Regions from separate parts of the Homo sapiens genome. Here regions 1 and 3 are each linked to region 2. Evidence: promoter capture Hi-C in human tissues and cell types (Jung and others, 2019). All regions are on one chromosome and are shown on one strand. The core of a region is centred on a gene start or on the middle of the fragment in contact, and the rest is flanking DNA. Distances in the headings are between cores, read along the strand shown.

Region 1 (3,920 bases), core at 892-3,391, 830 kb before region 2:
TATAAAGTTTCTGTTATGCAAGATAATTAAGTTCTCTCTATACAGCAACTTGAATATATCTCCAGAGAATTGTGCTGAATGAAAAAAGCCAATTCCACCATTCACATACTGTATGATTCCATTTGTATAACATTCTTGAAATGACACAATTGTATATATGGAGGATAGACTAATGATCGAGTCTGGAGGAAAGTGAGTGTGGCTATAAAAGGGCAAGATGAAGGATCCTTGTGGAAATATCGGAAGAGATCCTTGTGATGGAAATGTTCTGTCTCTTGAATGGACCGACGTCAGTATCCTACTTGTGATATTGCAAGATGTTGCCCTTGGGTGAAATTACCTAAGAGACATAGGTCTCTCTGTATGATTTCTATATTATGTTTTACAACCTGACGTGAATAAATCCACATTTATCTCAGAATAAAATATTTCATTTAAATACATCATTAATCACCACCTAAGGCTAGCTGCTGTTGATGGTTTTGTGGCCACTTGGACATTCAGCAAATGTTTTTAAACTTGGCTTTGTGGTTTACTATAGAAAAGGGTCTCAGCCAGGCATCTGGTTCCTACCTTTCCTCTTGTGTAAGCTCCCCTGTCTGTATTACCCAACTAATCTGGAAAGTAGCTTGGCTGTGAAGATTGTTTATAAATCATAAAATGTGGAGACCAGGGGTCAGAACAAAGGAAACTCACAACAAGGATTAATGCTTTTTTTCTTATATCTAAAGATATAGGGAATTGACATTTAAAGATCTAGTTGTTTTTTATTTGCAATTCTAGAATCCAGCCACACCTCCTTCTATAAAATAGAACTAGTGTTCTGGTGATCCAAGCAGAGGAATATGGCTTCATACACAGAAACGGGCTGAGGAAAGCAGAAACAGAGAACAAGAGTGGATGGGTCATTTCAAAGTTACTTTCCCTATCATGGTTAAAGCAAAGGGGATTTCTTTTATCATGCCTGCTAAACTGGCCTGTTTGGGACTTGGCTATTATCTCTCTCTTTCTCTCCTGAGAGGAGGTCAGGTAACAACTTAGTTGGAGTTGGTGGCCTGGAACTTCAGCATGAGTAGCTCCATTTCGATTTGATCTGTTGGGCCTAGTGCAGGAACTCAGTCCAAACCGATAGTCTCCTATACATTTTATTCTACACCTATGCTCATTTTCTTCTTTGCACATCTGTATGCTTAAAAAGTGTTCTTTAAAGATAAGCATGATTATCAGGTTTAAAGTTGCCTGGGATGGTCCCTCAGGCCAGTCCATTGGCTGGACTGCAGAAATGTCTGCAGCAGATGTGACACGCCTCTTTTATCCCCCTCATTTCTCTGCCTCCACCCATCCCTTGTCCTTTTCTGTTTTCCTTCCTCCCTCCTCCCTCTCCTTACCCATTCTTTCCTCTCTTCAGCCTGTCCTGCCCTCCCCAACTCGACTTCCTCTTTCTTTCCTCCTTTTCCCACCCTTTTCTTCTTCCTTATAGTCCTTTCCACCTTCTCATCCCCCTTTCCACCCTTTCTTCCTTCTCCTCCTTGCCGTCTCCATTCTCTTCCTTTCCTGCCTCCCTGCCCCTCCCTCCTCCCACCCGCTCCCTCTTCTTTCTGTTGGTTCCTCTCCTCTCTGACCTGTTCTTTTCCCTTAGTCTCTCCCCAGCCCTTCCTCCTTCCCCTCCATCCTTCTTCCAACCCCTCCTCCTTCTCCATCTCTTCTTCTTCCTCCCCAGCTCTCCTCCCCAAGTCCCTCTCCATCCTCTCTCTTCTCCCCGCTCCTCCCCATCCCTCCTCCCCTTCCATCCTTCTTCCCACCTCTCCTACTTCTTTTCTCCCTCCTCCCCCCTTCCCTCCTGTCCCTCCTCCTCGCCCCTCCTTTCCCTCCGTCTTTCTTTCCACCCTTCCTCCCTCCGTCTCTTCTCTCTCCTTCCCTTTCCCTGCCTCCTCCCCCTCAATCCTCCCTCTCGCCCCAGCCTCCTTGGCCGCGGAGTCCTCTGTGAGATGGAGGAGCTCAGTTGGCTCCGCTCGGCTCCACTCGGCTGGGCTCGGCTGAAAAAAGCCGGGGGGAGGTGGCGCGCGCGGGTTTCTGGGAAGCGTAGTCCGGCGCAGTCCGCGCAGGCGCACTGCCGTCGGGCGGGCCTAGCGGGCGCGGTCATTGTCCTGGCAGAGCGGCGAGCCGGTGAGTGTGGCTGCGGGGTCGCGCCCACCCTCTACCTGTGCCGGGGGCCGGAACCTGGCCCCGGGGAGGGCGCGGCCTCGGGGAGACGGCGTGCAGGCCCAGGTACGGGGAGTGCAGGGCTGGGTGCTGGTCCAGGGCGTGCGGGCGCAGGAGAGGGCGTGCAGGCCGGGACCGAGGTGCGCCTGGAGAGGCTGAGCGGCCGAGGAGAGGCTGAGGGGAAGCTGAGGGGCTAAGGAGAGGCTGACTGGAGGCTGAGGGGCTGAGGAGAGGCCGGGGCCAGGGAGGGAGAGGCGTGAGTGGGTTGGAGGTAGGAAAGTTGCATGAACACGAGGGCCATCCTGGGGGGAAGGTGGCCTGTGTGAGAGACAGGCAGTGCATATCATCCTGAGGATGAGGCTGTGTCTTTGTGGATATTGTGAATGTGTCTGTGTGTGTGTCTGTGTGGGTCTGTATGTGTGTGTGAGACAGATTGTGTCGTCCTGAGGGTATGGCTGTGTCTCTGGATATTGTGATTGTGTGTGTGTGTTTGTGTGTGTGTGTGTGTGTGTGTGTGTGTGTGTGTATGAGACAGAGAGAGAAACTGCGTGTCGTCCAGAGGCTGGGTCTGTGAATGAATGTGAATGTGTCCATGTATGTCCGTGTGGGTCATGTGTGGTAGCGTGTGTGTGTGTGTGTCCCACTTCTTCAGAGTCTTGGTCTCTCTGTGGAGCTGTGTCTCTCCAGGTCTCTGCCTATGCATGTGTGGTGATATCTCTGAGTGACTGCCTGTGTCCTTGTCTTTGGTGTTGTGGGTGTGTCAGCCTTGATCTCTGTCCATGAGTGTCTCTGTGGGAGGGTGCCCTCTGGGTGTCCACTATGTCTGCTCTTTCCATGCATGTCTCTTGGCATGAGTGTAGGGCTGTGTCTTTCCAGGGGCCAGTCCTGTCTGGATCTTTCCTATCTCTGTGTGTCCACCTGTGTCTAGAGTATTTCTTGATGTTTGCGTGTGACTCTGCAGGGGTGGGTGCGTCTGGGTGTGCCTCTTCCAAAGACTATATGCCTGGACAAGGGAGCCTAGCAGAGCCACTACCTTCTCACCCTACGCTTCTCCTAGTCTGCCTGCCCACAGTTCCCTGGCTTTTTCCTGCCCATAGAAGGCTCTGGAGGCGTAGGGGCCTGGGAGTGACAGGGGCCGGGTGGAGGAGGGGAAAAGGAAGGCTGTTTCTTCTGCCTCCCACAGGATCTTCTTAAAGTGGGATCAGACTCCCAAAGGGTCTCTGTGCCCTACTCTGTTCTGACCAAGGAGAGGTTGATTTGTTCAGGGAATGTGTATGCAGCCAGTGCTGGCCATTTATAGATGTCCCAGTAACTCTGAGGTAGAGACCATCATCATCCTTATCTTACAGATGGGGAAACTGAGTCTCAGACTAAGTGACTCACCCAAGGCTACCTCAGGCATCCAGGTTCCAGAGCCCCCACAATTAACCACCAGACAAATGGGAGATCCCTTTTTTCCCTTTCCGCTCAGCTGACACAAGGTTGCAGGATTTTCCCCGAGGGAATCCCCGCTTGGAAACAATGGAAATGGAAGAAAGGAAGGAAATGCCAAAAAGCTCAGAGGAAGAAGAATCCAGATCTAAGGCCAAACTGGGTTCAACAGCCACTGGCCATACTCTTGGGCAAGTCACTTCCAGGGCCGCTGCATGATTTTTAAGGGTACTTTGCCTTCATGGGCCCCTTGCTCCATTGTTTTTTTAAAGCACTAAAAATTACAT
Region 2 (3,782 bases), core at 832-3,331:
GCCAGGCTGGTCTCAAACTCCCGACCTCAAGTGAGCCACTCGCTTTGGCCTCCCAAAGTGCTGGGATTACAGGCATGAGCCACCGTGCCCGGCTGGACAAAATTAAATTTATAGAAATTTTTCTTTAATATATTAACCTTAGCTGACCATTTTTTACTTTATAAGCTTGTATTTTTAAAAACTTTTTGACTTTTGTAATAATGTTTTGCTTAAAACATTGTACAACTGTACAAAAATATTTTTTATATCCTAACTTCTTAAATTTTTTTTGTTAAAAACTAAGATACACACATTTGTCTAGGCCGGCACAGGATCAGGATAATGTCATTTTATTCCACCTTCACAACCTGTTCCAGAAGATCTTCTGGGACAGTAACACACATGGAGCTGTCATCTAAAATAACAATGCCTTTTTCTGGAATACCTCCTGAAGGACCTGCCCGAGGCTGTGTTACAGTTTGTGTGTATGTACACCTGTATATTTATAGACATACACACAACTCCATATATACTCTACTGTTGGAGAACACCTAATGATAAAAAGTGTAGTATGCTAAGAACATAAGCTAGTAACTCGTAAGTTTTATCTACTGTACATTATTGTATATGTTATACTTCTATATGACTGGCCTCACAGTAGGTTTGTTTATACCAGCATCACCATGAATATGTGATTAATATATTGCCTTACTACTGCTATCATGTCATTAGGCAATAAGCATTTTTCAGCTTCATTGTAATTTTATGGAACCACTGTCATGAATGTGGCCCATTGTTGACTGAAAAGTGAGGTGCATGATTATATATGTATGTGCCACTTTTCCTTTCATTAGTGGACATTTGGGTTGTTTCCACTCAGCTGTTGTTAATAGCAGATGAGCATGAATGTACAAATGTTTCTTTGAGGCTGTGCTTTAAATTCCTTTTGAGGATTTACTCAGAAGTAGAATTGGTGCTTTCTATGTTTTTTTTTTGTTTGTTTGTTTGTTTGTTTGTTTTTTGAGACGGGAGTCTCGCTCTGTCGCCAGGCTGGAGTACAGTGGCCTGATCTCAGCTCACTGCAGCCTCTGCCTCCGGGGTTCAAGCAGTTCTCCTGCCTCAGCCTCCCAAGTAGCTGGGACTACAGGCATGCACCACCATGCCCAGATAATTTTTGTATGTTTAGTTGAGACGGGGTTTCACCGTGTTGGCAAGGATGGTCTCAATCTCGACCTCATGATCCACTCACCTGTCCCCCTATGTTCATTTAAAAAATATTTTTAATTTTTTAAATTTCTGACTCACAATGTTCCCATTCTATGTTAATTCTGTTTTAAAATTTTTGAGGACTCTTCTATAGCAGCTGCATCATTTTTTAATTTAACTTTATTATTAATTTTTTTTTTTAGTAGTTTTACTGGGTTGAGTTTTTTTTTTTTCTTTAGGGTTATTTGGTTTTGAGATGTAGGAGTTTTTTAGTATATGTGGGGACTTCAGAAAGTTTGTGGAAACATGAAAGTAAAGGATACAAAAAGAAAACAAGTTTTATTTCTCAACATAAGCTCCATCAAGTTCAAGACAATTTTATAAGTGATGATACCAGGCATTTAGTCCATCCCTAAAGAAGTGAGGTTCCTGGGAATTTAACCTTGTCTATGCAATCTTTTTTAATATTAACTAAAGAAAAATGGGTGCCCTTTAAAGATTTTTTAAAAGTAGGAAACAAGAAGTCAGAAGGAGCCAAATCCGGACTGTAAGGTGGATGCCTTAGGGTTATCAGAATTCTTGTAAAGTTGCAGTTATTTGATGAGAGGAATGAGCAGGAGCATTGAAGTGAAGGACTCCTGGTGAAGCTTTCCCATGGGTTTTCTGCTAAAGCTTTAGCTAACTTTCTCAAAACACTCTCATTGCGGGCGCCGTGGCTCACGTCTGTAATCCCAGCAATTTGGGAGGCCGAGTTGGGCGGATCATCTGAGCTCAGGAGTTTGAGACCAGCCTGACCAACATGGAGAAACCCCCCTCTCTACTAAAAAATACAAAAATTAGCCTGGCGAGGTGGTGCATGCCTGTAATCCCAGCTACTCAGGAGGCTGAGGCAGGAGAATCGCTTGAACCCGGGAGGCGGAGGTGGCAGTGAGCCGAGATCACACCATTGCACTCCAGCCTGGGCAACAAGAGTGAAACTCCATCTCAAATAGTAATTAATAATAAAGCCATGTTTCATCTGTACAATTCTTCAAAGAAATGCTTCAGCATCTTGATCCTACTTGTTTAACATTTACATTGAAGGTTCTGCTCTTGTCTGCAGCTGATCTGGATTCAGTGGCTTTGGCACCCATTGAGTGGAAAGTTCGCACAACTTTAATTTTTCAGTCAGAATTGTGTAAGCTGAACCAATTCAGATGTCTGTGGTGTCAGTTACTGTTTCTGCTGTTAATCATCAGTCTTCTTCAATAAGGTCATGAGCAAGATGAATTTCTTCCTCGCAAATTGTTATTAATGGTTTGCCATTGTGGGCTGCGTGGTCAACATCATCTCATCTCTTCTTAAAACGTTATCAGGCCGGGCGCGGTGGCTCACGCCTGTAATCCCAGCACTTTGGGAGGCCGAGGCTGGTGGATCATGAGGTCAGGAGATCGAGACTATCCTGGCTAACACAGTGAAACCCCGTCTCTACTAAAAATACAAAAAATTAGCCGGGCGTGGTGGCGGGCGCCTGTACTCCCAGCTACTCCGGAGGCTGAGGCAGGAGAATGGCGTGAACCCGGGAGGCGGAGGTTGCAGTGAGTGGAGATCGTGCCACTGCACTCCAGCATGGGCGACAGAGTGAGACTCCGTCTAAAAAAAAAGAAAACAGGTTATCAGTTTGTAAACTCTGATTTCTCTGGGTCATTGTGCCCATAAACTTTTCTTTTTCTTTTTTTTGAGACGGAGTCTCACTCTGTCGTCTGGGCTGGAGTGCAGTGGCGCGATCTCAGCTCACTGCAACCTCCGTTTCCTGGGTTCAAGCGATTCTTCTGCTTCAGCCTCCTGTGTAGCTGGGATTACAGGCATGCGCCACCACGCCCGGCTAATTTTTGTATTTTTAGTAGTGATGGGGTTTCACCATATTGGTCAGAATGGTCTTGAACTCCTGACCTTGTGATCCGCCCAAACTCGGCCTCCCAAAGTGCTGGGATTACAGGCGCGAGCCACCGCACCCGGCCGGTTTTACCATTTTTAGAGCCAAGCTTTACTATATATTTGATATTTGTTCTTTCTTCAACCTTAGCTGAATTCACATTCCTCTGATAGAAGGTGTTTTCAAACTGATGCCGTTCTTAGTGCCTCAAACTAGATCCTGTTCATACTTGTTAGAACAAGTTATTACAAATTCACTTTGGTGTAAAAAATTGAAATCCATACATAATTTTTTTTTTTTTTTTTGACAGAGTCTCACTAACGCTAGGTTGGAGTGCAGTGGCATGATCTCGGCTCATTGCAACCTCCGCCTCCTGGGTTCAAGCAATTCTCCTGCCTCAGCCTCTTGAGTAGCTGGGATTACAGGTGCCCACAATCACGCCCAGCTAATTTTTGTATTTTTAGTAGAGATGGGTTTTCACTCTGTTGGCCAGGCTGCTCTCGAACTCCTGACCTCAGGTGATCCACCTGCCTGGGCCTCACAAAGTGCTGTGATTACAGGCTTAAGCCACCACCCCTGGCCAATTTTTTCATAATATACATTTTTTTCTCATTTTTCATGAAACTTTTGAAGACCCCTCATATTCTAGATATTCCTTCTCAGATATGTGGTTTTCAAATAC
Region 3 (3,472 bases), core at 456-2,955, 610 kb after region 2:
TTCTGCACAAAGTGGCATTCACACACAACATTCCAGGGACCAGCCGCCAGCAGCAAAGATGCGGAGACACGGCTCTGATTATCCAGCTGAGGCAGCCCCTCCCCTCCCTGCCACTCCTGGGACTCTTAATCTCCAGGCCTCGTTTTATTTTATTCTAGGTATTTATATTTCCATGAAGCATCTGCTTTGTTTACTGGTGTTTGCCCCATGAACATGGGCTTCCAAGGGACTAAAGCCCTATCAGTCCCTCTCACTGATGTGCTCCCACCCCAGTGTCCAGAACAGTGCCTGGTACACATAGGCCCTCAATAAACAGCTGTCCAGCAGATGCTGGACCCCCTGGAGGTGGGTCCTCCTCTCTTTTCTTAGCTCACACTCTCCTGCTTCTTCTTCAGCAATGAGCAGCTTCAGCTATCCTGAGCTCAGTCCCAGAGCTGAGGACCCTCCTTGCATCATGATCTCACCCCCACCTGATTTCAGATACAAAACGAGTATCTGTGGAACCCTACTATTCTGGCACATGGTTACATTGTAGACATTAATATTAAAACTTATTTATATGAAATGTTCTTATGTAAGGTTTCGTTAAAGTATATGAAATATAGGACACATTGATACTAATTCCTTGTTTTTCTTTTTCTTTCTTTCTTTTTTTTTTTTTTTTTTTTTTTTTGAGACAGAGTCTCACTCTGTTGCCCAGGCAAGGCTGGAGTGCGTTGGCAGGTCTCGGCTCACTGCAACCTCGGCTTCCCCAGTTCCAGCGATTCTCCTACCTCAGCCTCCCGAGTAGCTGGGATTACAGGCACGCACCACCATGCCTGGCTAATTTTTGTATTTTTAGTAGAGACGGGGTTTCACCATGTTGGCCAGGCTGGTCTGAAACACCCGACCTCAGGTGATCCGCCTGCCTCGGCCTCCCGAGTTCTGGGATTACAGGCGTGAGCTATCGCGCCCGGCCTCCTTGTTTTTCTTGAGTTTACATATAACTGAGGTTTCTTTTTTCTTTCTTTTTTTTGGGGGTGGGGGGACGGAGTCTCGCTCTGTCACCCACGCTGGAAAACTGGAGTGCAATGGAGCAATCTCGGCTCACTGCAACCTCCGCCTCCCCGGTTCCAGTGATTCTCCTGTCTCAGCCTCCTGAGAAACTGGGATTACAGGCATGCGCCACCACGCCCAGGTAATTTTTGTATTTTTAGTAGAGACGGGGGTTTCACCATATTGGTCAGGCTGGTCTCGAACTCATGACCTCGTGATCCGCCTGCCTTGGCCTCCCAAAGTGCTGGGATTACAGGCGTGTCACCGCGCCCGGCCGACGTCCTGTATTTTTATTTGCTAAGAGTGGCGATCCTAGTCTGGGACATACTTGTACTAAACATATTTATATTAAAAACAATGTTTTAACATACTACTCTTGGACACTGTATAAAACGGTTGCGTGTCTGGAATGCCGTCGTTTTGCCCCGCGGCCCCATCGTACATGCGCATCCCCGCAGCCGCCACCGTCTCCACTTTCCGCAGCAGCGTCCCTGACGCTGCGCGACCCGTTGCCAAGGCGACTGGAACCGCGGCCCGAGGTAACTGGAGGGCACGGCGGGGGCGGGGCGCTCATCCCAGGCGGCTTCTGATTGGCCTCGGCCGCCTCGTGCGTCACAGCCCCGCCCCTGCCCGGGAGTCCCGCAGCGGTGACTTGTCACCGACGCCCGGCGTGATCCAGCGGACCAATGGCGGCCGCCCGCGGCGCGCAGGGTGCGGGGATGGGGTCCGCCCGCGGCGTTGGGCGCGCTCGCCAGCCCAGGGGTCGCCATGACCGAGTGGCCCAGGCCCGAGCGAAGCCCGCGCGCGGTGAGTCCGCCGCGGCCCATCCGTCCCTCCGCCCGCCAGAGCGTCCATCGGGACGCCCACCCGGGAGGGTCTCGGCGCCGCGTCGGCGGGAGCTGGCCCGGGATCGCGGTCCAGGGGCGCGCGTCGGGGGAGGCGGGCCCGGGCCCGGGAGGGGGCGGGCCGGGCCGGGGTTCCAGAGCCCATCGGGAGTCCTGAGGTCGCCGTAGGGGAGGGAAGGGGAAGGCTAGAGGCCACGCGGGGCGGGGACTGGGGGGGCTGGGGCCGCCCCTTCCGCAGGGACCCCGACCCCTGTTGGCATCCGCCTGTCCGTTTGAGGCCGAAGCCCCTCTACGTACCCCCATTGCCCGCCCAAACACCGCTCGGCCGCGTCCAAGTTCTCCCTTCCACACCTGATCAGCATCCCGGGACCTATCTCCCTCCTGAACAGCCGCCCCCGGACCCATCTCCCTCCCTACCCGGCCCCTTGGGCCCATCCCCCACTGGAACAGCAGCCCCCGACCCGTCTCTCTCCCTACAAGCTCCCCCTCCCCGCCCCAGGCCCATCTCCCTCCTGAACAGCCGCCCCCGACCCATCCCCCACCCAATCACCCCACCATCCTCCCCCCAACCAGCCGTCCACAGCCGTCGTCGCTGCCCCTCCCCTGTATTCCCAGTGCGCTGCCCTTGCACACTTCCCCAGCTCGTTTATTATGGAACTCCTCCGTGTGGCATCCTAAGCTCCCAACGCCCTCCCCACTGTAAGCCCCCTTCTCAAAGCCAGAACCATTCACTGACTGGCGCAGTGAACACGTCTTCTATGTCACTAAGCATCCGGCATCAGCGGCAAAGCCCTTCTGCCCATCCCCGCAATAGAATTTGGGGCTCGGGCTGCAGATCTCAGTGCCCATGCCAGGTGAACCTGGCCCTTCCACAGGCACTGAGCCCTCCAAGTGACACTCTCTCACACACACACATCCCCAACATTAATCAGAGACCCCTACCAAAGTAGACTTCTAGGACCCCAGGGCCACCACAGCATTGCCCATGGGGGGGCCCAGATCCTCCTCACCAGCCATGTAGACCTCAGTCCCCTTCACATCATCCCAGGCCCTCTTCATCTTCCAGAAACAGCCACCCATCAGTCCAGGACTCTCATCAGCTCAGGTACCCCCACATTGGCCTAGGTGTTCCACATCAGCCCCCATATAGACCCCAGACACACCCATGGACCTCTGGTGCCTTCTGCTAAGACCTCCTCTTTACCCTCATCCCTGATAAACTTAGCATCTCCTCCCACAGACCTCAGCCCAGGACCCTGGAGGATGCTGAGGGGCTACAGCCCCCCTCCCTAGAGTCTCCAGGGTGAGCTGCCATGAGCACCTGAGAGAGTATAAGGTCTGAGGCCCCAGGGCAAAGGGATTTCTTGAACCTGTGGAGCTTCAAAATAGGCCCTTTTTTCTTATTCAAAACTACATATATAAAAGTGTGAATACAACATAAGAGAGCATTTTTGCCTGTGGCCTTGGCAGGGAAGACCAAGCTGGTAGTTTCCCAATCAGGGTGCAGGTGGCCGGGTACGCTGACTCGAAGATGGCTGGCTGGGCACAGTCCCCGTGAGTTGCCTTTCTGCCACCCTGCACCTCTCCTTTCT

The links. Contacts are between HindIII fragments. The study calls those that stand out against the background at their distance.
Region 1: a contact is called between the fragment with the promoter of ZNF71 here and a fragment that was not itself captured in region 2, in 1 of the 25 tissues and cell types used here (dorsolateral prefrontal cortex).
Region 3: a contact is called between the fragment with the promoter of ZSCAN1 here and a fragment that was not itself captured in region 2, in 3 of the 25 tissues and cell types used here (dorsolateral prefrontal cortex, pancreas and stomach).

Annotation. Positions count from the first base shown.
Region 1 is chr19:56,593,161-56,597,080 of GRCh38, forward strand. ZNF71 (zinc finger protein 71) reads left to right here and starts at 2,142. Exons shown (of 4, transcript NM_001370215.1): 1 at 2,142-2,268. It overlaps ZNF71-SMIM17 (ZNF71-SMIM17 readthrough (NMD candidate)), which reads left to right and starts at 2,142. Exons shown (of 5, transcript NR_163263.1): 1 at 2,142-2,268. RefSeq lists a silencer at 2,104-2,493. The HindIII fragment of the contact is 26,997 bases long and covers 1-3,920 here.
Region 2 is chr19:57,422,531-57,426,312 of GRCh38, forward strand. No RefSeq gene overlaps it. Among named protein-coding and RNA genes, the nearest start is that of ZNF749, 11 kb to the right of the region's middle. The HindIII fragment of the contact is 4,324 bases long and covers 1-3,782 here.
Region 3 is chr19:58,032,320-58,035,791 of GRCh38, forward strand. It overlaps ZSCAN1 (zinc finger and SCAN domain containing 1), which reads left to right and starts at 1,706. Exons shown (of 6, transcript NM_182572.4): 1 at 1,706-1,842. The HindIII fragment of the contact is 19,074 bases long and covers 1-3,472 here.